Linked DNA regions of Homo sapiens: all the other regions are linked to region 6. The links are contacts of gene promoters, found by promoter capture Hi-C in blood cells and fetal thymus (Javierre and others, 2016). All regions are on one chromosome and are shown on one strand. Each heading gives the region's core, a stretch centred on a gene start or on the middle of the fragment in contact. The rest is flanking DNA. Distances are from core to core; before and after follow the strand shown.

The links. Contacts are between HindIII fragments. The CHiCAGO score rates a contact against its expected background, and 5 or more counts as called.
Region 1: a fragment that was not itself captured here is called in contact with the fragment with the promoter of CITED1 in region 6 in 5 of 17 cell types (M2 macrophages, M0 macrophages, endothelial precursors and 2 more); the score reaches 7.9 in M2 macrophages.
Region 2: a fragment that was not itself captured here is called in contact with the fragment with the promoter of CITED1 in region 6 in 1 of 17 cell types (monocytes); the score reaches 5.1 in monocytes.
Region 3: a fragment that was not itself captured here is called in contact with the fragment with the promoter of CITED1 in region 6 in 1 of 17 cell types (megakaryocytes); the score reaches 5.3 in megakaryocytes.
Region 4: a fragment that was not itself captured here is called in contact with the fragment with the promoter of CITED1 in region 6 in 2 of 17 cell types (M2 macrophages and fetal thymus); the score reaches 8.3 in M2 macrophages.
Region 5: a fragment that was not itself captured here is called in contact with the fragment with the promoter of CITED1 in region 6 in 1 of 17 cell types (M1 macrophages); the score reaches 5.2 in M1 macrophages.
Region 7: a contact is called between the fragment with the promoter of PHKA1-AS1 here and the fragment with the promoter of CITED1 in region 6, in 3 of 17 cell types (M0 macrophages, M2 macrophages and M1 macrophages). The highest score is 8.1, in M0 macrophages.

Annotation. Positions count from the first base shown.
Region 1 is chrX:72,737,683-72,740,383 of GRCh38, reverse strand. No RefSeq gene overlaps it. Among named protein-coding and RNA genes, the nearest start is that of PHKA1, 25 kb to the right of the region's middle. The HindIII fragment of the contact is 1,245 bases long and covers 827-2,071 here.
Region 2 is chrX:72,596,627-72,599,661 of GRCh38, reverse strand. All of the region lies in intron 28 of PHKA1 (phosphorylase kinase regulatory subunit alpha 1), which reads left to right. Among named protein-coding and RNA genes, the nearest start is that of HDAC8, 25 kb to the right of the region's middle. The HindIII fragment of the contact is 1,875 bases long and covers 313-2,187 here.
Region 3 is chrX:72,711,526-72,714,422 of GRCh38, reverse strand. PHKA1 (phosphorylase kinase regulatory subunit alpha 1) reads left to right here and starts at 117. Exons shown (of 32, transcript NM_002637.4): 1 at 117-620; 2 at 1,486-1,644. The coding sequence starts at 543. PHKA1-AS1 (PHKA1 antisense RNA 1) reads right to left here. Exons shown (of 5, transcript NR_110391.1): 5 at 2,075-2,466. RefSeq lists a silencer at 1-136 and an enhancer at 1-813. The HindIII fragment of the contact is 497 bases long and covers 1,307-1,803 here.
Region 4 is chrX:72,637,061-72,640,033 of GRCh38, reverse strand. All of the region lies in intron 14 of PHKA1 (phosphorylase kinase regulatory subunit alpha 1), which reads left to right. Among named protein-coding and RNA genes, the nearest start is that of PHKA1-AS1, 50 kb to the left of the region's middle. The HindIII fragment of the contact is 5,199 bases long and covers 1-2,973 here.
Region 5 is chrX:72,656,098-72,659,043 of GRCh38, reverse strand. PHKA1 (phosphorylase kinase regulatory subunit alpha 1) reads left to right here. Exons shown (of 32, transcript NM_002637.4): 9 at 1,403-1,456; 10 at 2,802-2,924. Among named protein-coding and RNA genes, the nearest start is that of PHKA1-AS1, 31 kb to the left of the region's middle. The HindIII fragment of the contact is 710 bases long and covers 1,036-1,745 here.
Region 6 is chrX:72,304,600-72,307,563 of GRCh38, reverse strand. It overlaps CITED1 (Cbp/p300 interacting transactivator with Glu/Asp rich carboxy-terminal domain 1), which reads left to right and starts at 1,650. Exons shown (of 3, transcript NM_001144887.2): 1 at 1,650-1,739. LOC105373250 (a long non-coding RNA gene) reads right to left here and starts at 1,462. Exons shown (of 3, transcript XR_938441.2): 1 at 1,344-1,462. RefSeq lists an enhancer at 595-644 and a silencer at 371-665. The HindIII fragment of the contact is 8,247 bases long and covers 1-2,964 here.
Region 7 is chrX:72,687,482-72,690,420 of GRCh38, reverse strand. PHKA1-AS1 (PHKA1 antisense RNA 1) reads right to left here and starts at 1,472. Exons shown (of 5, transcript NR_110391.1): 1 at 1,419-1,472. The region is part of intron 4 of PHKA1 (phosphorylase kinase regulatory subunit alpha 1); the gene reads left to right. The HindIII fragment of the contact is 3,854 bases long and covers 740-2,939 here.

The DNA.
Region 1 (2,701 bases), core at 200-2,699, 430 kb before region 6:
CTGAATAACCCTTTATCTAGTAAAGAAATTTAATTGGCAATTAAACACTTTCTTAAGAAAGAAAGAAAACCTCAATCATAGATGGTTTCACTAATGAATCCCTATATGAAACCATATGGAATTATATAGAAGTATGTAAACAGGATCACATACTTCTTGAATCATTCTACGAAGCCAGAATTACATTGAAAAGAATGAATTTGGGCCTCTACTTCATCCTGTATACAAAAAAATTACCCAAAATCAGTCAATGACTTAAATACAAATGCTAATAACAAAAAACTCTTTAAAGAAAACACAGCGGTAAACTTTTATACCCTTGGATTAGGCAATGGATTCTTAGATATGACACCAAAATCATGAGCAACAAAAGAAAAATGATAGATCAATTAGATTTCATCAAAATTGAAAATGCTCATGCATAAAGAACAGTATAAAGTAAAAAAAGAAAACATTCTATAGAATGATAGAAAATAGTTGCAAATTACGTATCTGACAATGGTTTACTATTCAGAATATGTAAAGAATTCCTATAGCTCAACACAAAAAAGAAAAGCAACCTAATTAATTTTTTAAATGAGCAAATGACTTAAGAGACATTTCTCCCACTAAGCCCATGAGATGATGCTCAATATCATTAGTCATCAGAGAAATGCAAATGGAAACTACAATGAGATACCACCATTAACACTTTACATACACATCTATAATTAAAAAAAAAACTTTTCTTGAAGCAAATAAGAAGCATTGGTAAGGATGTAAAGAAGTTGAAATTCTTGCACATTGCAGATGGGAATGTAAAATGGTGCACCTCTGTGGAAAAGCTTGCGGTCCCTCAAAGAGCTCTTTTCATAATGTATACAAAGATCAAAACGTTATATTGTACCACATAAACATACATGGCTATTATATCAATTAGAAATAAATTTTAAGAGTTAAACATAGGATGCCTTATGACCTAGCAATTCCACTCCTAGGGAAATATACCCAAAATAATTGAAAATAGAATCTGAGACAGTCAGTTTCATGCTAATGTTCATTGCAACAGTATGCACTATAGCCAAGAGTTGGAAACAACCAAAGGGTCCATCAGCAGTTTAATGGACAAATGAAATACAGCATGTGTATGCAATGGAATATTATTCAGCTGTGGAAAGAAATGAAGTTCTGATATGTGCTACAACATGGATGAACCTGAAAAACTTACTAAGTGAAATAAGCCAGACACAAAAGGAAAAATATTGTATGGTTCCACTTATATGAAATACCTAGAATAGGAAAATTCATAGAGACATCAAGTAGATTAGAGGTTATCAGGGGCTAAAGGGAGGAGGGAATGGAGGGTTATTGACCAATGGGTACAGAGTTTCCATTTAACGTTTGGAAGTAGTGGTGATGGTGTCACAATGTTGCCAATGTAATTAATGCCACTGAATTGTACACTTAAAAAGGGTTAAGATTGCAAATTCTATGCTACATATATTTTACTACAATAACATTTTCCAAGGCCTGATGCAGTAGTTCATGCCTGTAATCCCATGTACTTGGGATGCTGAGGCGGGAGGATCACTTGAGGCCAGGGGTTTGAGACCAGCCTGGACAACATAGCAAAACGCTGTCTCTACAAAATTTTTTAGAAATTAAAAATCTTCCAAAAGGGAAACAGAAAAAAAAATCCAGGACTACAGGAGGAACAATCCATGCCCCGCACCTCCCTTACTGCTGTCTTTTAGAACATCACAAAACCCAGGACGGCACTGGGAAACCCTAAGCCACAATTCATAAATAACACTTGGCAGCAATCTTCTTTAAGTACCATCATGACAGCTGCCTCTGAGGCGGCTGCTACATTTCCTGTCTCCCACCTCTGCTTCTTGGGTTACAACTTTACCCTCACAACCTTTCTTTCCCACTCTGCCAGCATACTGAATATTTCTCACCAATAACTTCCTTCCAATCCACCCATCCCGGTGAAAATCTTCGGCCTACATTTATGTTCCTATCTTACTGACCAATCTATGTCTAGAACAGGACTCTCAACACTGTGCTGCTTTAGGTCATACCTCAAGCTTGACAACACTGTTTGAATAGTGAGTCTGAAATATAGGAATTGACTGGGACAAACACACTTAATATTAAGTCTATAGTTTGCCTTTATTTGGTTCTGTGTGATCATAGGCAATGTACCACTCTGAGCTTAGCAACCTCATTGATAAGATAGCAACAGCATTGTCTTCCTCCAAGAGTTATTTTTCAGGATTAAATAAGACTAACATGTGGAACATATCTAGTACATAATAGAATCTAAGTAAATTTTAGTTACCTTCCCCTTCTTCATAACATGTTATTACCAGAAACTGGGATGTTGAGGTAGGGGTTGCCTGCATTTCTAGCATTTTGAGGATGACATCAGGCAGACAAACTTACCTTCAGACATGCTAACATTCATGCCTCTGCCAAGCACCAATCTTGGGATGAAGGGAGGATGGTTTGGTCTTATTATGGCAACCTTCTGTTCTTCTGCACTAAAGGCCATTGCTATTTAGAAAAAAAGAATCCTCCCGTGAAGAATTTTGTAAATTAACTACTTTACAGTTTCAAAGCAAACAATTACATCTTTTGAGTAAAGCTGAGTTTTAATATATCTTATATATTGAGCTTGCTTAGAGTAAGACACAGCTCTAAAATAGAGGACCACAAT
Region 2 (3,035 bases), core at 1-2,500, 290 kb before region 6:
TTATTTTCCAATAACATAGGGAAGGGAGTTCAACTCCAACCTCTTTGCGATTTCAGAAAACAAAATTCAATTTGCTAAGTATTGGTTAAGTATAAATTCTTGGTCCCACCCTAAGTACACAGAGTCAGAAAGACTGCGGATGAGGCCCAGTAATCTGTTTTATTTAGATGATTCTGATGCATTTTTAAGTTTGAAAGCCACTGGGTTAGCTTTTCTTCTGATTATGAATTCATTTAGTAAATATTAATTGAGTGCCAGTTTTGTGCCAGGCACTGTGAACAAAATGGATGTGGTCTTTGCCCTCGTGAAGCTTACAATTTAGGAGGACTGACCTCTAATTAAATTTATTTGGTTTAAATCAAAGACTCATAATGGCCTATGATTTCAGATTTCTCAAGCTGAAGAGATTTAGGCTAGACAATTACCAAACAAAAAATGGAAAATTATTCGAAACAATATTAGTATTTAGGTTAACCTAAATCAAATACCCTGTAATGAACTAATAAGACTTGGCCAACTCTATCATATCCACACTAACATAGGACAGGGGTATAGAAGAAAATTTAAAAACTCAAAATGATTGATATTTGGCTTTGGAAAACAGTCTGAATTGTACTTTATCAGATCTATACCCTTTCTGGTTTGACCTCACAATCAACAGCCTAGGATCTTGGTGGTATAAACAAGACAATGAAGATAATTAAATGGCAGTTCATCTACTCAATAGATCAGTGCGATAGTCACTTGCCAGTAGAAATGTTTGGGGGCTCTTTTCTTTTTTACATTGCATTGGTTGGTGATTTAGGCATTTGGCCCAAATTAAAACGTGAGAAGTTATTTTCTCAGAAAATATTTCTATTATCTTCTATCTTATATTTATTTCTGAATTTAAACTGTTAACCACTTTGCCCAATGTATTTTATCCTTTACTTAGTATAAGTTTTTCAAAGTTCATTATGTTTTAGCATGTATCAAAAGTTTATTTTTTTCATTGCTGAATAATATCCTACTAAATTAATGTACCACATTTTATTTATCCATTCATCAGTTGATGGACACCTGGATTGTTTCCACTTTTTGGCTGCTATGAATAATTCTACAATGAACCTTCATGCACAAGTTTTTGTATGGACATATGTTTTCACTTCTCTTGGATATATATCTAGGAGTGGAAGTCCTGGGTCATATGGTAACTATGTGTCGCATTCTGAAGAACTGCCAGACATGTCCAAAAGGGCTGCACCATTTTACATTCCCACCAGCAGAGTATGAGAGTTCCAATTTCTTTACATCTTCACCAACCCTTACAATTGTCTTTTTTATTATAGCCATCCTGATGGGTGTGAACTGGTATCTCGTAGTGGTTTTGATTTGCATTGCCCTAATAGCTAATGATACTGAGTGTCTTTTCATGTGCCCAATGGCCATTTGTTTATCTTCTTTAGAGAAATGTCAATTCACATTTGTACCTATTTTAATTTTTTTTGTCTTTTTATTGTTGAGTTGCAAGGATTCTTTATATATTCTGGATACAAGTCCCTTTTAAGATATAAAATTTGCAAATATTTCTCCCATCCTGTGGGTTGTCTTTTCACTCAATACCATTAAGTATTCTTCAAACAACAAAAATTTTTGATTTCCACAAAGTCCAATTTGTCTATTTTTTCTTTTGTTAATCATGATGTTTTTGGTGTCATATCTAAGAAGGCTTTGCCTAACCCAAGGTCACAAAGATTTATTCCTATTTGTGTTCTAAGGGTTTTATAGAGTTAGCTGTTTTATTTAGGTCTATGATTATGTATGGAGGGATCCCCAAGATCACCCTCAGATTTAATGATTCACTAGGAAGACTCATAGATCTCAGCATATAGTCATACTCACTGCTACGGTTTATTACACCTAAAGGGTACAAGATGCATTGGGCACAGTGTAACTACAGTCAACAATAATTTATTGTACATTTTAAAATAATAAAAAGTATAATTGGATTGTTTGTAACACAAAGGAAGGATAATTGCTTGAGATAATGGATACCCCATTTACCCTGATGTGGTTATTATGCATTGTATGCCTGTAACAAAATGTCTCATATACCTCATAAATATATAAACCTACTATGTACCTACAAAAGTTAAAAAAAATTTAAAAGAGTCATTGGTCAAAGTCTAGGGAAAACAGACACAAGCTTCCAGAGTACTCTGTCAGTAGAGTCACCCTGCAATGAGTTGTGACAAGATGTCATTGCCAACCAAGGAACCTAATAAAGACTCAGCACCCATTGTTCTTGTTGAGGGCTGGTCACGTAAACAGCCTCTGTCTGGCGTGTATCAAAACTCTGGACTCCCAGAAAGAAAGCAAACGTTCAACATAAACCATAGCGTTTGTACAGTTTAGGCATGGTAAGCCACTGTTATTAGTTCTGGGAATGGTGAGAACTCTCCCAGAATCCAAGTTTCTAAGTTTCTAAATGCCAGCCAAGGGCCAACCTTGTAAGCAAGCCTTTCCAAGAATAGCAGTTCTGGCCTACTGTCTTAACTCTTTTCTGCACAATGGGCTTAATTTTTGTGTGTGGTATAAGGTAGAGTTCAACTTCATTCTTTTGCATGTGGATGTCACTGTTCCAGCACCATTTGTTGAAAAGGCTATTTTTCCCTCATTTAATTATCTTGGCGTCCTTGTTGAAAATTAATTGACCAAAATATAATGGTTTATTTTTGAACTCCCTGTTCTATTCCATCGATCTATATGTCCATCCTATACCAATATGACACAGTTTTGATAGTTTTGTAGTTTTGATAGCTTTAGAGTAAATTTTGAAATCAGGAAGTGTGAGCTCTCCAACTTCAGTCTTCTTTTTAAATATGAATGTTAGGATCAGCTTGTCAGTTTCTGCAAAGATCCCAGCTGGTATGTTGATAGAGATTGTGTTCAGTCTGTACATCAGTTTTTGAAATATTGCCATCTTAATGATGTTAAGTCTTCTGACCCATGAATATGGAACTATATTTCAATTTATTTAGGTCTTTAATTTTTTT
Region 3 (2,897 bases), core at 306-2,805, 410 kb before region 6:
TGTTTCGAAAATAAACCTCGGAAAGCACATTGCCTACGGTGACACATTCTCGGCCCCGGGGCGGGCGAGCCCCGGGGTCGCAGCGCGCAGCTGCCAGAACCAGTCGCGCCCGCCCCGCCTCCCGCTCGCGTCTCCCGCAAGGTGGAGGCGGCGCAGCGGTCGTTGACCTGTTGGCGGCGGCCGGGCGGGAGGCTGTGGGCCGCGGCGGTCTCCCGGGGTTGAGGGGAGGATGCAGGAGTCACACGCGGAGGCCGGACTGGACTAAGGGGGCAGGAGCGGCGCCTGGGGCGCTGCGGCGGGGCTCTAGACCGCGGGAAGCCAGTGCTAGCGCTGGCGCGTGGTGGGCCCCTGAGGCCGCCGGAGTCCGGAGAGGTACGCGGAATCCGCGGCGCCAGGCCTGAGCGGTGGGAGGGCTCTGCGGGGCCTGGTGTTCAGGCGTCCCACCACGAGGGTGGAGCAGCGTTGGATACTTGTTCCTTAGGGACCGAAGGCTCCGGTGGCACCCGGGCTATTTCTCAGAGGACAATTAGTAACGTGTCGCCATGAGGAGCCGGAGTAACTCCGGGGTCCGGCTGGACGGCTACGCTCGACTGGTGCAACAGACCATCCTGTGCCATCAGGTAACTGCAGGGGTGTCTCTCGTAATCACCGAGCGAGGATGTAGCTTGTCATAGCTTGGACGGAGACCTTGGATGAACTCCGTGCGTGCGTGCGTGTGTGGGTGTGTGTGTGTGTGTGTGTGTGTGTGTGTGACGGAGACCTTGCATGAACTCCGCGTGTGTGTTTGTGTGTGTATCTGTATCTGTCTGTAGCAGGTTCTCCCGCCCCTGTTAATTATATATTTTTTCTGCTGGTTTTTCATTGCTAGTTCGCTAGTTCATTCTAACTAGAAAGGTAAAACTTTCTTTTAATAATACCCATTATAAATGCACTTAATAATACCTTTAATTGTGCCTTTAATAATACCCACATTTCAGACTCGAAAGGCTTCAGCCACCGCTTACCCCTTATTCAAGATAGTATTTGCAAAGGGCACAAAGTTTCAGTTATAAGATGAGTAAGTTCTGGGGATCTGATGTACAGCAGCATGGTGACTGTAGTTAATCATACTGTACTGTATACTTGAAATTTACTAAGAGAGTAGATCTTAAGTATTCTCACCACACCAAAAAAAAAGGTAGCTGTGAGGTAATAGATGTGTTAATAAACGTCATTTTGGTAATTTTCCAATGAATACATAAATCATCATGTTGTACTCCCTAAATATACACAATTTTTAATGTGTTGAATATAGCTCAGTAAAGCTTGGGAAGGTGGGAAGATAGCATTTGCCTGCAATAGGTCAGAAGAAGAGGAGGTTATAAAACTCAAGAGTGGAGAAGTAGAAGAAAGACCAAAGTCCCTAAAAAACCCATTTGGAAGATTCTGTTTCCTGATGTTAACACCTATGGTTACCTTCCTGCCCTCTTTTTCTTGACCTTGCAGAATCCAGTGACTGGCTTGCTTCCAGCCAGCTATGATCAGAAAGATGCTTGGGTCCGAGATAATGTGTACAGCATCTTGGCTGTGTGGGGTTTGGGCCTGGCCTATCGGAAGAATGCAGACCGGGATGAGGATAAGGCAAAGGCCTATGAATTGGAGCAGGTACTCAAAATAAAAATACAAAGAGATCTGGAGCTATGTGTGATTGGGGGTTGGGGGCAGAGTGGGGACTGAAGGAAGTGAAACCCACCAAAAGCTAAGAGAACTGTATTTTGCCTTTCCCTCTTTCATCATCTTTCTGAAATTATATTCCAGAAAGCTTTCCTGTATTGTACTGAAGTGGTATTCTTGCAGTGGAAACTTGAAACTTGCTGATTTGAGGGAGAGGGAACAGTCTGTTCTGTTACAGTGGAAAATCCTATCCTGGGATCTTTCCTAAAATGCATGACTCTCTAAGTTAATCTATCTTGTAGTCACCACTGTATTTATTCTCATTGAGAAAATGTTTGGGAGCAGGTATCTACTATTTTATTTCATTTTTAAAAATTGTGGTGTTTGTATGAGGGTAAATGACATGAATCAGCAAACCTTCTGGACTAGACACAGTAAAGACTTTATCTGTTGATTTTTATAGCTGTGGCCACTGTTTCAGAGCCTGTTGCTTCCTCCCTCCCCCAACTCCTGGGCAAAATGAGGTCAGAGTCAGCAGATGCCTTTAAGCCAACTTTTAAGGCACTTCCCCTCAGTAAACCAGCATCCTTTATAGAACTGTTGAGACGCAAAGGTAGCTGCATCCTCTTCAACGACCAAGAAAATAATATTAAGAAAACAATATTCTGGGCTATGGTGGGAGTTGAAGTACTCTGTTGTCAGTTATAAGATGCATGTGCATTCATTTCCATTAGTGGGAAAAATTCTCTCTATACCAGCCATTTTCTCCAGTGGTCTCTCCAAGACTTAGGCAATCTGAGCTCCAGTCTTCATCTATAAATCAGAATATTGATATTTGGTTATTTTACGAGTATCAATATAATGTGGGGTTGCACTGTGTTGTCCTTAGCAACAGCAGGCATTTGTTGTTCTTTCAAGCCATTATTGAGAGATACATAGGTCCACCAAAAAAAAAAAAATTATTCAAGTTTTTGCTCCACACCAGGTAGTACAGATCATTATTTTTATGACTTTTTTTGTTGTTGTTGAGACGGAGTCTCACTCTGTCCCCAGGCTGGAGTGCAGTGGCACGATCTCAGCTCACTGCAACCTCCACCTCCTGTGTTCAAGCGATTCTCCTGCCTCAGCCTCCCGAGTAGCTGGGACTACATGCGCGTGCCACCACGCCTGGCTAATTTTTTGTATTTTTAGTAGAGACGGGGTTTCACCATGTTAGCCAGGATGGTCTCAATCTCCTGACCTTG
Region 4 (2,973 bases), core at 453-2,952, 330 kb before region 6:
TAATTTTAGTTTATCCAATGAGGTAAAAATCTGACTTTTTGCCAAGTAACCAATCGTTCCAGCACTACTGATTGAATAGTTCATATATAGGTTGTTTTGAAGTTCCACCTTTATAATTTACTGTACATGCATATACTCACTCACATGTGTGGATACTTTTAATCTTACTTTTTGGTGCTGCTGATCACTGTTTCTTCTTTCCTAGTACTATATTTTTTAAGTTATCATAGTTTCAACCTCACCAATGATTGTGAAAATGTAAGATAAAAGAATAGTGCTATGTAATTTTTTGCCCATCAATTTTACAAAAAAAAGGTAAGATTGCCAATATCCAGTGCTGATGAATATGTGGAGATGTGGACACTCTCAGCACTCCTGGTAGTGTAAATTAGAGGCAGGTAGGCATTACCTATAAAAAAATGTAATGCACATGTCTTTGACCAACAACCTTACTTCTAGGAATCTACCCTTTTCTTTTTCTTTTTCTCCCCCCAAGATGGAGTCTTGCTCTTGTTGCCCAGGCTGGCTGGAGTGCAGTGGCGCGATCTCGGCTCACTGCAACCACCGCCTCCCAGGTTCAGCTGATTCTCCTGCCTCAGCCTTCCAAGTAGCTGGGATTACAGGTGCCTGCCACCATGCCTGGCTAATTTTTGTATTTTTAGTAGAGACGGGGTTTCACCATGTTGGCCAGGCTGGTCTCGAACTCCTGACCTTGTGATCTGCCCACCTTGGCCTCCTTCCCAAAGTGCTGGAATTACAGGCGTGAACCACTGCACCCAGCCCAGAATCTATCCTATATAACATTCGTACAAGTACACAAGGGCATATATTCAAGGATGTTCACTACATTATAATCTGTGGTGGCAAAACAACAATTAGAAGTACTATAATGTGTATAAACAAGAATGGTAGAATTATGTATATTGTATCATAGCTAAAAAGGTAGACTTTCAGCTTCCAGCTGTGATGAAATAGCTTGTATTGGGCTGTCATACTAACAATAACTGGAATGGCTGAATTTTAAAAATGAAGGTGAGTGAAGGCTTCAGAGAGTAATTACAACAGCCAGAACTTGAGAAACTAAAACCTTGGACAGAAGGGACACTCAAAGAATAAACTCACTATTCTCTGTGCAGTTTACCTTTGAGGCATTTGCTGATTCTTAAGTTTTGCTTGCATGAAGTAAGGGGCCAAGAAACTAAGCAGGAAGTCTCACTGTTCTACGGAGACAAAAATTGCATTTCAGGACCTTCCTATGTGGAAGGGGCTGTGATAAACACCTTGGGCTTTCAGTTGAAACCCCTAAAGAATGGACTACACCTTAGGAGTAAGGAAAAACCATAAATAGACGAGTTCTTAGAAAGCCTCAAATACAAATCCTAAAACACAATCTTCTTAATTCCTGATTGGGCTAAGAAGATCTGCTTATACTGTATCTGCCTACTAAAATAAACTGAATCTTCTCTGGAGGGAAATAATGTCATCCAGAGCCTCTACAATTCTTTATACACCGTATTCAGCATTGAAAAAAGAAGACATGACTTAGAAAACCATGACTTGTTATTAATTGGTAAATTAATAAAATTAATAAAAGACAAAAGAAAAAAATAAAACAGACACCCAGACTTCTATTCAACATAGCTTTTTTTTTTTTTTTTTTGAGAGAAGCTCTCACTGTGTTGCCCAGGCTGGTCACAAACTCTTGCGCTCAAGGGATCCTCCCACCTTAGTCTCTGGGACAACAGGCACACACCATCACAGTCGGCCATCATTGGAAGTTCTAGCCAGAGCAGTTAGACAAGAAAAAGATATAAAAGACATCCAAATTGGCAAAGAAAAATTAAAATGGTCTCCATTCACACATGACATGGTTTTATTTAAAAAACAAAAACAAAAACAAAAAAAACCTGTGAGAACTAATAAACAAATTCAGCAAACTTATAGGATACAGAATCAGCACACAAAAGTCAGTTACATTTTTATACACTAAAAATGAACAATTTGACAAGGAAATTAAGAAAACAGTTCCATTTATAATAGCATCAAAAAGAATAAAATACTTAAGAATAGGCTTAACCAAAGAGGTGAAAGACTTGTACACTGAAAATGGAAAAACATTGCTAAAAGAAATAGAGAGGAGACAAATAAATGGAAAGACATGCTGTCTTTGTGGGTTAGAAGACATAATATTGTTAAGATACCAGTACAACCCAAAGCTATCAACAGATTCTATGCAAGCCCTATCAAGAGCCCAAATGATGATTTCTGTAAAATAGAAAAATTGTTCTAAAATTTATATGGAATCTCAAGGGACCCTGAATAGCCAACATGAGGATGTGGAGACATGAAAACTCTTGTGTACTGTGGATGGGAATGTAAAATGTGTCAGCCCCTATGGAAAACAGTATGGCAGTCCCTCAAACAAATTAAACATAGAATTACTATATAATCCAGCAATTACACTTCTGAGTATATATCCAAAAGAAGTAAAAATAGGAACTTGAACATTTTCTACATCAATGTGCAGCATTGCCCACAATAGCCAAAAAGTGGAAACAACCCAAATGTCCATCAATGAATGGATAAACAATATGCAATGTATACACAAAATGTATACCCAAAATGGAATATTATTAAGCCTTAAAAAGGAAGGAGATTCTGACATATGCTACACATAGATGAACTTTGAAGACTATGCTAAATGAAATAAGCTAGTTACAAAAGGAAAGATATTGTATTATTCCATTTATATGAGATACCGAATTCATAGAGATACAAAGTAGAACAGTGGTTGCCAGAGGCTGGGAAGCAGAGGACATGAAAAGTTACTTACTGTTCAATAAATAGAGTTTCAGTCTGGGAAGATGAAAGAGTTTTGGAGATAGTTGGTGGTGATGTTTGCACAATGATGTAAATGTACTTAATGCCACTGAACTTAAGGTTATTAAAATGGTAAATGGTAAATTTTATGTT
Region 5 (2,946 bases), core at 141-2,640, 350 kb before region 6:
AAATTGCCATTAGACAAACACAAGAATAACAATTATTTCAGGAGAAATCTACTGATGGATGCTAAAACCAGTAGACAAAAGCTTAAGCATAACGAAGGTGTTCGAATAGTCTCACAGTATCTCCCCCAAAATATTTAATAGTTACAAATGGAAAATTACAGTGGAGAAATTCAGCAGACACCACTTTAACCAAGTGATCAGGGTTAACATCACCAGTAATAGGACACATTGACATCATGTACTCTCTCATACAATGCACTGAGAAGGGCACATCACTTCTGTGGTATCCTTCCCAATATGCATAACCGTACTCTGATCATGAGAAAACATCAAACAAAACCAAATCGAGGGGCATTCTACAAAATAACTGATGAACACTCTTCAGAAGTGTCAAGGTCATTAAAAACAAGGAAGGACTGAGGAACTGTCATAGATTGGAGGACACTAAGGAGACATGATGACTGAATGCAATATGGGATCCTGAATTGGGTCCTAGAACAGAAAAAAGGACAACTGATGAAATCCAAATAAGTTATGGGCTTTGGTTAATAGTATCGTACCAAAGTTTTTTTTTTTTTTTTTTTTGAAACAAAGTCTCACTTTGTCACCCAGGCTGGAGTGCAGTGGCAGGATCTCGGCTCACTGCAACCTGTGTCTCCCAGGTTCAAGCGATTCTCCCACCTCAGCCTCTTGAATAACTGGGACTACGGTCACGTGCCACCACGCCTGGCTAATTTTTGTATTTTTTTGTAAAGACAAGGTTTCACCACATTGGCCAGGCTGGTCTCGAACTCCTGACCTCAGGTGCCTCCCGCCTCAGCCTCCCAAAGTGCTGGGGTTACAGGCATGAGCCACTACACCCAGCCACCAAGGTTAATTTTTTAGTTTTGGCAGATTTCTATGGTTATATAAGATGTGACTATAACGGAATGGTGGTTGACAGGAATACTGGGATTCTCTGTACTGTTTTTGCAACTCTTCTGTAAATCTAAAATTATCTCAAAATGTAAAAAATATGTGTTTTTTTAAAAAGCTTATGGAGTCTTATGACTTATGAGCTGTATGTGTCTTATGAACAGGACCACATAGATTAGTAATTATGCTGTCAGACTTACCCTAGGTGGATAGCCATGGAGAGGATACTGTTAGGAACACTGCTTTAGTGAAGAGCCTGTCACTTTGCCTTCACTTGAAATCACATTGCTGAAATCTGTTTCTGCTGCTGGATTGATTTTTTGGTTTTAAGCATTATTATATTATTATAGGTTTTTTGGTTTTAAGCATTATGCCTTTATCGGTGATAGGTTGGTGGTACATATAGATGTTGCAAGGATGTATTTCTGATTAATTACATGGCCGTACCAGTGTACAAGCTGCTGACCTTTTTTCTTTGTATTCCCAGGGTCGTTATGGTTGCTGTCGCTTTCTACGAGATGGATATAAAACTCCTAAAGAGGTAGGTTTCTTTTCTCCAAAATGAATCCAAGGTAGAATGGCCACTTCTACCTGCAGCCTCATTCAGAGAAAATATTTACCTCACTGATGGTACTTATAGAGATCACTAAGTAGGATAATGATAACTGATGTTTGCTATATTTGTTGAACTTGGCTTAGCTGCCAAGTTCTCAGTTTGTAGGCCTTTCTGGATTAAGTAAAATAGAGGAAGGTGTAGTCCTTCCACCTCTTGCATTGGTTAGTTTCGGGAAAGAACTACAGATACATGGTAAAATCAGTGGATGAAAGCTTATACAGAAATAGTATTTGCATTGTCTCAAAGTATCTCTCCCAAAATATTTAACAATTACAAAGGGAAAAATCTTTCCATCAGTAGATCTTTCTGGCCCCACATTCCACCTCTTGTAGTTGGTTAGTTCTAAACAGTACTTGATTTTGAAAAGTTTACGTTCCCTTTATTCAACTAGTCAAAAGTTCACCTTGGAAATATCAATGAGAAAAATTCAGTATCATTAAAGGGATTGAACAGTCAATATGAAGCACTTTCACTGGTAATGGAAACATTGTTTAAAGCTTAGATTTGATGTTTGAGAGACATTATGGATTTTTTTAAATCATCGAGCTCAAACTCTTCTGGTCTACTTCCTCTTCCACTTTATTTTTTAGCCTTGAATTTGACTTCTTCCCCTATCAGTGTACTAAAATTATATGTTCTGAAACATCATCATAAGCTCTTAAATGACCAATCCAATAGCCTTTTCTGAATCCTTATTCTCCTTGACTTCTCTATGGTACCTCACTTTTTACCTAGCCCTAAATTCTCTTGAAATTCTTTTCCTATTTTAATTTTCCCACTAGATTATCCTGATTCTTCTCTTTCTGTTATTCCCTTGCCCCACTCTGAGGGTTTACCAAGATTCCATTCTTGAGCAGTTTGCTCATTTCATTTAGTGCTATTTCACAAAGCTCATCTGTAACTTGTACTTCATATGTCACCTCTAGGAAAATGATTCCCAAACCCTCATCTCTAGTTGCCCTTCTAAACATTTCTACTTGTATGTCCTATTATTACAAAAAACTTAACAAATATAAAACCAAACTGAACTTTATTGCAAACCAATCTTATTTCTTCATACACCCTCTTGTGATATCATTGCTATCCCAATTCCGCTAGTTAGAAGTCGCATCATAGAGTACTTGCTAAGGGAAGGGAGTATGTACATGCTCTGCTTCCTGAACACCTTCTCTAAAACAATCAGTAATGAAAACCCGTATTATAATACCTCTGAGCTAAAGATATACATCTAACCTCTGAGTGATGACAGACTTTATTGTGTTTTTACTAGGATCCCAATCGTCTGTACTATGAACCAGCTGAGCTGAAGCTATTTGAAAACATTGAGTGTGAATGGCCATTGTTCTGGACATACTTTATTCTTGATGGGGTCTTCAGTGGCAATGCAGAACAGGTAATAAGCTGGGGAAAGAGTT
Region 6 (2,964 bases), core at 401-2,900:
CAAAACCCCTGAAGCCCGTTTTGGCCCCCGACTAGATTTAGGTCAGAAAACAGACACTAACGGCTCTCCTTTGCCTCAGTGAAATTACTAAGTGGAATTTATTGGGCAAGTCCACGCAGGGCGGTGGGGAGAGCCGGTGTCCCGGGCCCTGGCCCCCGACAGCTTTAGAAGCCGGGCACTGGCCAGGGCTCCGGGCGAGGGCTGCCCATAGCCCGGACTCGCCAGCCCCACCCCGGGAGCCTTGGCCGGTCCACAGGGCTGCCGGACTCGCGTGGCCGCGTGGACTCCGTTCCCCAGCCGGCCCTTTGCTTTCACACGATCCGCGGTGACTGCACCAGCTCGAGCGCCTTTAAAGGGCCACAGACGCCAGCCGCTGCTATAAAAATGTGCCCGGCGGCAAAGCTGCAGAAGGGGCACCGCTGAGCTGCCGAGAGGAAGCTCGCTCTGCCCGGCTGCCCTCTTGTAGTCCGCCGGCGAGGGGCAGTTCTCGGTGAGGAGGAAGAGAGCAGCGGACGGCACAGCACCCGCGCGGGCCCTCCGTGAGTATCCAGTTCAGATTTTGCCACCAACTCGCCCACGAGCCAGGACATGTGCTAATAATGCCCTAAGCCGGTTATAAAGACGTGGAAATTGAGGGGAGAAAAAAAAAGGGAAAAAAAGGGTCTGTCCTTCCTGGGATTCCTAGCCGAGGCCAGTCTGCTGCCGTGTGCGTGTGCGTCAGGGCTCTCCGGGCGGCAATGGGGGCTTGAGAGCCGGGTCCCCAGCGCCGGGAAGGGAGCGCGGTGGCCGCCACCGCCACCGCCCCGGAGTCCGGCGCCGAAGCTGCGGGCGGGCGGGCGGGCACCAGCTCGGTCAGGGGCTGCTTGGCGCGGCACTGTGCGGTGCAGCGGCGGCGCGGCGCGGTGCGGGCTTTTCCCAGGCGCCCCGGGGTCGGGTGGCCAACGGCGCGGCCGCGGGCGCTGAGCGCGACCGGTTCGCGGTAGCGGTGGCGGCGGCGTGCGTGCCAGGGGCTGGGGGCTCCGCCGCCTCTCTTGCGGCTCACCGAGCTCCGCGCTTCCCTCTCTCCAGGGCAGGCGGCTTCTCAGAGGTAAGCCGGGCCGCCGGGCTGGGCGCCGGGCTGGGCGGCGGGGCCGAGGACTCCCGTGGAGCGGGTATGGGGAGTGGGCGGCCGCCAGGCGGGCCGGAGGGTTCTGGGGAGACTTGCTTTCTGTTGGAAAGCTGCTCTGCTGGGGGCGAGGGGCCGCCCGCCCGCCCGCCCGCCAGCGCTCGGGTTCGCTTGCCAGCGCGCCCCCCTGCCGGCCAGCGGGGCCGGGTGCCCGCTTCTCCCGGGGAGACGGCAGCACCTTTTCTCCCTGCGCCCGCGCTTTCTCCAGCTTGGCTTCCACCGACTTTGCTAATCTCCCGGACCGCATCTGGACGCTCTGGCTCCGGAGCTGCACAAAGCTCAGATTTACTTCGGGGAATTGAGGCAAGAGGGGGCTTTTCGGGCCGAGTTCAGCGGAATTGCGGGATGGAAGTTAGCGAATTTGGGCAACTTGCCTCTACTGCCCAGTCGACCTCAGCCCTCCCCTCCCCCGACACACGCCCACACACACACACCCACGCGCACACCCCTCTCCCTATAAACGCGGGCTGGCGAGCCGCGCGCCGAGTCCCTGCTTCGCAGAGCACCGGACTTGGAGTCAGAGAGACCTGGCTGCGAATCCCGGCTCCGCCACTTTCTAGCGCTGTGACCTTGGGCAAGTTACCGCACCTCTCCGAGCCTCTCTCACTCTTCTCCTAGCGGGGTTTTAGCACTGACCGCAGGCGGCTTGGCTAGGGGGTAGGCTCAGCCTGCTGCCGCGTCGGATGCTCAGCGGGCGCTCAGTAAGTGTTGATCAGGCGCGAGAGTGGCAGCAGCCGGCGCCGGAGTGCGGACTCGCCGCGGAGGCCGACACCCCGTGCCCCTTCCTGCCTGTCCATCCTGTCTCTAAGATCAGTTCCTGATACAGCACTTGCGGGAACGGACGCTCAGGGCCCCGGTGGCCTGGGTGCACGCGCCCGCCGTGCAAGGGATGCTCCCGGCCGCCCCCGGTTCCGCGGCTCCATCTGGGATGCGGCGAGGAGGGCAGCCGAGCTGTCCGCAAACAACGGGCCTTTAGTTTTCAGGTGGCGAAACTGACTGGTCTGGTTAGAGCGCGTCCAAGCCAAGCCGCAGTGCTGTTTGGATTTTTAAATTTCTCCTTCTGAGTGAGAAAATAGCAATCGAGATGGAACCATCCGGTTGGTGCCATTTTAACTTTTGGTCCCCCAACAGGTTAAAGATGAGGCCCCCACCTGCCTCTCCCTTCTCTTTTCCCTCTCCCCTTCCCACCCCTGTCTAGGCGGGAGGGGGCTGCTCGCCCAAGGGAAGGCCTGAAGCGAAGAGCGGGCAGCGGGACTGGGAACTGGTGGCCGGGGGGCCGCCAGGCATCAGCCGGCGAGAAGGCACTTGTTGCTCTAGGTTTCCCAGCCGCCTGTCGCAGCCGTTTCGCAGTGGTCAGCTCGCGGCTTGGAGAGCGGGCTGGGACGTTTCCGCGTTGCCAAGTTTTGCCCACGAACGGGCTAGAGGGTGGTGGAGGAGGGCAGAAAGCCGGGGAAGCAGAGCCAGGGATGCCGATGGAAATGCGATTGCTTCTTCAGACGCATTCAACAACACTTACTGAGCGCCTATTGAGCGCAGACCCAGGCTGGGGTCAGGGTGGGTGGTGGGTCAGTAATGGAAGGCAGAAGATCTGAATGGACACAGGGCCTCTTCTGGGGGAGCTCCCAGATTGAAGAGGGAGGCGCGGTAAAATGGTCTTCCCCCACGAACTGATATCAGAATAGAGAGAGTTTTTTTGCTCGTTCTCTCTTTTGATTTTTCTAATGTTTCTCTTTTGGTTTTGCTGTTGTTGCTGCTGCTCCTGTTGTTTTTTCTTCGTTTTGTACATTCGGGTACCAAGC
Region 7 (2,939 bases), core at 223-2,722, 380 kb before region 6:
ATCTCCTTGAAGTCCCTATCTCCAAATATAGTCATATTAGGGGTTAGGGCTTCAATATACAAATTTTTGGGGGGAGGACACAATTCAATACATAACAAACACTTAGAGAAAAATACAGGAGTAAATGTTTCTGGCCTTGGGTTAAGAAAAAGCCTCTTAGATATGGCACGAAAAGCATAAGCTACTGAAGAAAAAATAGATAAACTGGAATGTATCAAAATTAAGAACTTTTGTGCTTCAAAGGACCCCATCAAGAAACTAAAAAAGCAACCAATAGTATAGAAGAAAATATTCACAAGTCATATATCTGATAAGGTACCTGTATCTAAAAGAACTCGCAGAACTTAATATAAAAGATAAATAACCTAATTAAAAATGGTCAAAGAATCAGAATTGACATTCCTCCAAAAAGATGTTCAGATAACCAATAAGTACATGAAAGGATAGTGAACATCATTAATTTTGAAAGAAATATAGGTCCAAACCACAATGAGATACCACTTCACACCCATCAGGATGACTGTAATCAAAAAGACAGATAATAAGTGTTGCTGAGGATGTGGAGAAATTGGAACCCTCATACACTGCTGGTGGAAATGTAAAATGGTGCGGCTGCCTTGGAAAAGAGTCTGGTAGTTCCTTAAAAGGCTTAAAAAAGAGATACCATATGATCTAGCAGTTTCACTCCTAAGTATATATATACCCAAGAGAAATGAAAACATATGTTCACTCAAAAGCTTATACATTAATGTTTATAGCAGCATTACTTATGATAGCCATAAATGAAAATAACCCAAATGTTTATCAACTGATAATTGGATAAATAAAATATGATACATCTGCACAATGGAATTTTTAAATTTTTTTTCATGTTACTGCTACCTCTCAAGATGGAATATTTTGGGCAATAAAAAATGAATTACAGGTACATGCCACAACACTGACAAACCTTGAAAATATTATGCTAAGTGAAAGAACCCAGACATAAAAGGCCACATATTGTATGATTCCATTTATATGAATGTCAACTAAGGCAAATCATAGAGACAAGAAGTAGATTAGTGATTACTTAGGCTGGGGGGCAACTGTAGAAGGGAAGTGGGGAGTGACTGCTAAGGGGCACAAGGTTTCTTTTGGAGTGATGACAGTGTTCTAAAATTGATTGTGGTGATGGTCGCATAACTGTGCATACACTAAAAACCGTTGAATATATACTTCTTATGCATGCTTTTTACATATCTCAATAAGGTTGTTTCTAAAAATGAGAGAAAGAGGCTTAATGTTATACAGATGAGTGCAGAATATAAGTGCAATAGACCACTGATTTAGCTCCATTTCTGGAGCCCTGTATGCCTTAGTATTCTTTATATAGTCACCTTTGGTCTAATCCAGCCCTATCTCATTTTATGTGTACTCACCTCTGCATTCTTTGTTCGACAAGCAGTGTCTGGGCTCTACAGGAGGCACAGGATCCAGAGGTCCTCCATTTATGACCTTTCCTCAAGAGGCTGATCCCTTTCCTGTGGTTAACAGAGGTGTTTAAAATCACTTAATAAATTTTCAAACATCTACTGTTCAATGCTATTTAATACCGTTCAGAATACTACGTGAGATACTTTTAGTGGCTATGTGAGATAATTTTAGAAGATGCAGATATAAATAAGATGTAGTTCTTTCCTTAAAATTCAAGTACACATTTGTCTATAATACAGAGTAAAAAAATAAGTTCATAAAAGTAAGAAAAACAAAATTCTGTGAATCACAAAATAGGAGAATCAATGATAGCATCACAGAGGACATAGCATTTGAGCTGAGCCTTGAAAGAACAGTAGGATTTCAAGATCTGGAGAGAAGAAGGCCATTTAAATGGAGAATATAACAAGCAAAAGGACATAAATGGTAGAAATGTCTGGCATTTGTATGATATAGCTGTGATGCAAGTCTAACAGATGAATAATACCAGTTTCATACTTTTGCCTTCTCTGTCTCTGCTCAATCGCATTGTCACACAAAGATGACAAGATAAAGCTATGAAGCTGATGTCCCATGTCACTATCATCTCTTCTCTTTACCGGCGTCTTTCCAAGAAGTTAGTGTCATTACGATTGCAAGAAAAAACACACTTTGCCACTTTGCTTCTGCAGCTTCCCTGTGCTATGGATGCTATTTTGACAGAGCCATGGATCAGGAGGAGTTTGCAATCTGATAATACCAATCATATAGTTCTTTTTAATTATAAAGTTACACAGTTCCATGATTTAAAATATATGTTAATAGATCAAAGATTTAGATGTGGCCAGGCGCAGTGGCTCAAACCTGTAATCCCAGCACTTTGGGAGGCTTAGGCGGGCGGATCACAAGGTCAGGAGTTCAAGACCAGCCTGGCCAACATGGTGAAACCCCTTCTTTACTAAACATACAAAAAAATTAGCCGGGCATGGTGGTGGGTGCCTGTAATCCCAGCTACTCAGGAGGCTGAGACAGGAGAATCACATGAACCTAGGAGGCAGAGGTTGCAGTAAGCCAGGATCATGCCACAGCACTCCAGCCTGGGCAACAGAGCGAGACTCTGTCTCAAAAAAAAAAAAAAAGTTTCTGATAATAAAAAAATACTATAAACAAGTCCAAATTCCAACAAACTAGCAAAAATACTTGCAACACATATGATGTGCAACGGACTAATTTCCTTAATATTTGTTAAAATATCAATAATAGAGAAAGAAGTTTTTTTTAAAGTTTAATGCTGAGCAAATACACACACACAAACACACACACACAGTATGTTTGTGTGAACCACAGAAAAGGGGAAGCAATGACAGCATCACAGAGGAGATAGCATTTGAGCTGGAACTTGAAAGAACAGTGAGATTTCAAGATATGGGAAGGAAGGGAAGGCCATATGAATGGAGATTATGAGCAAAAGGACATAAGTGGTAGAA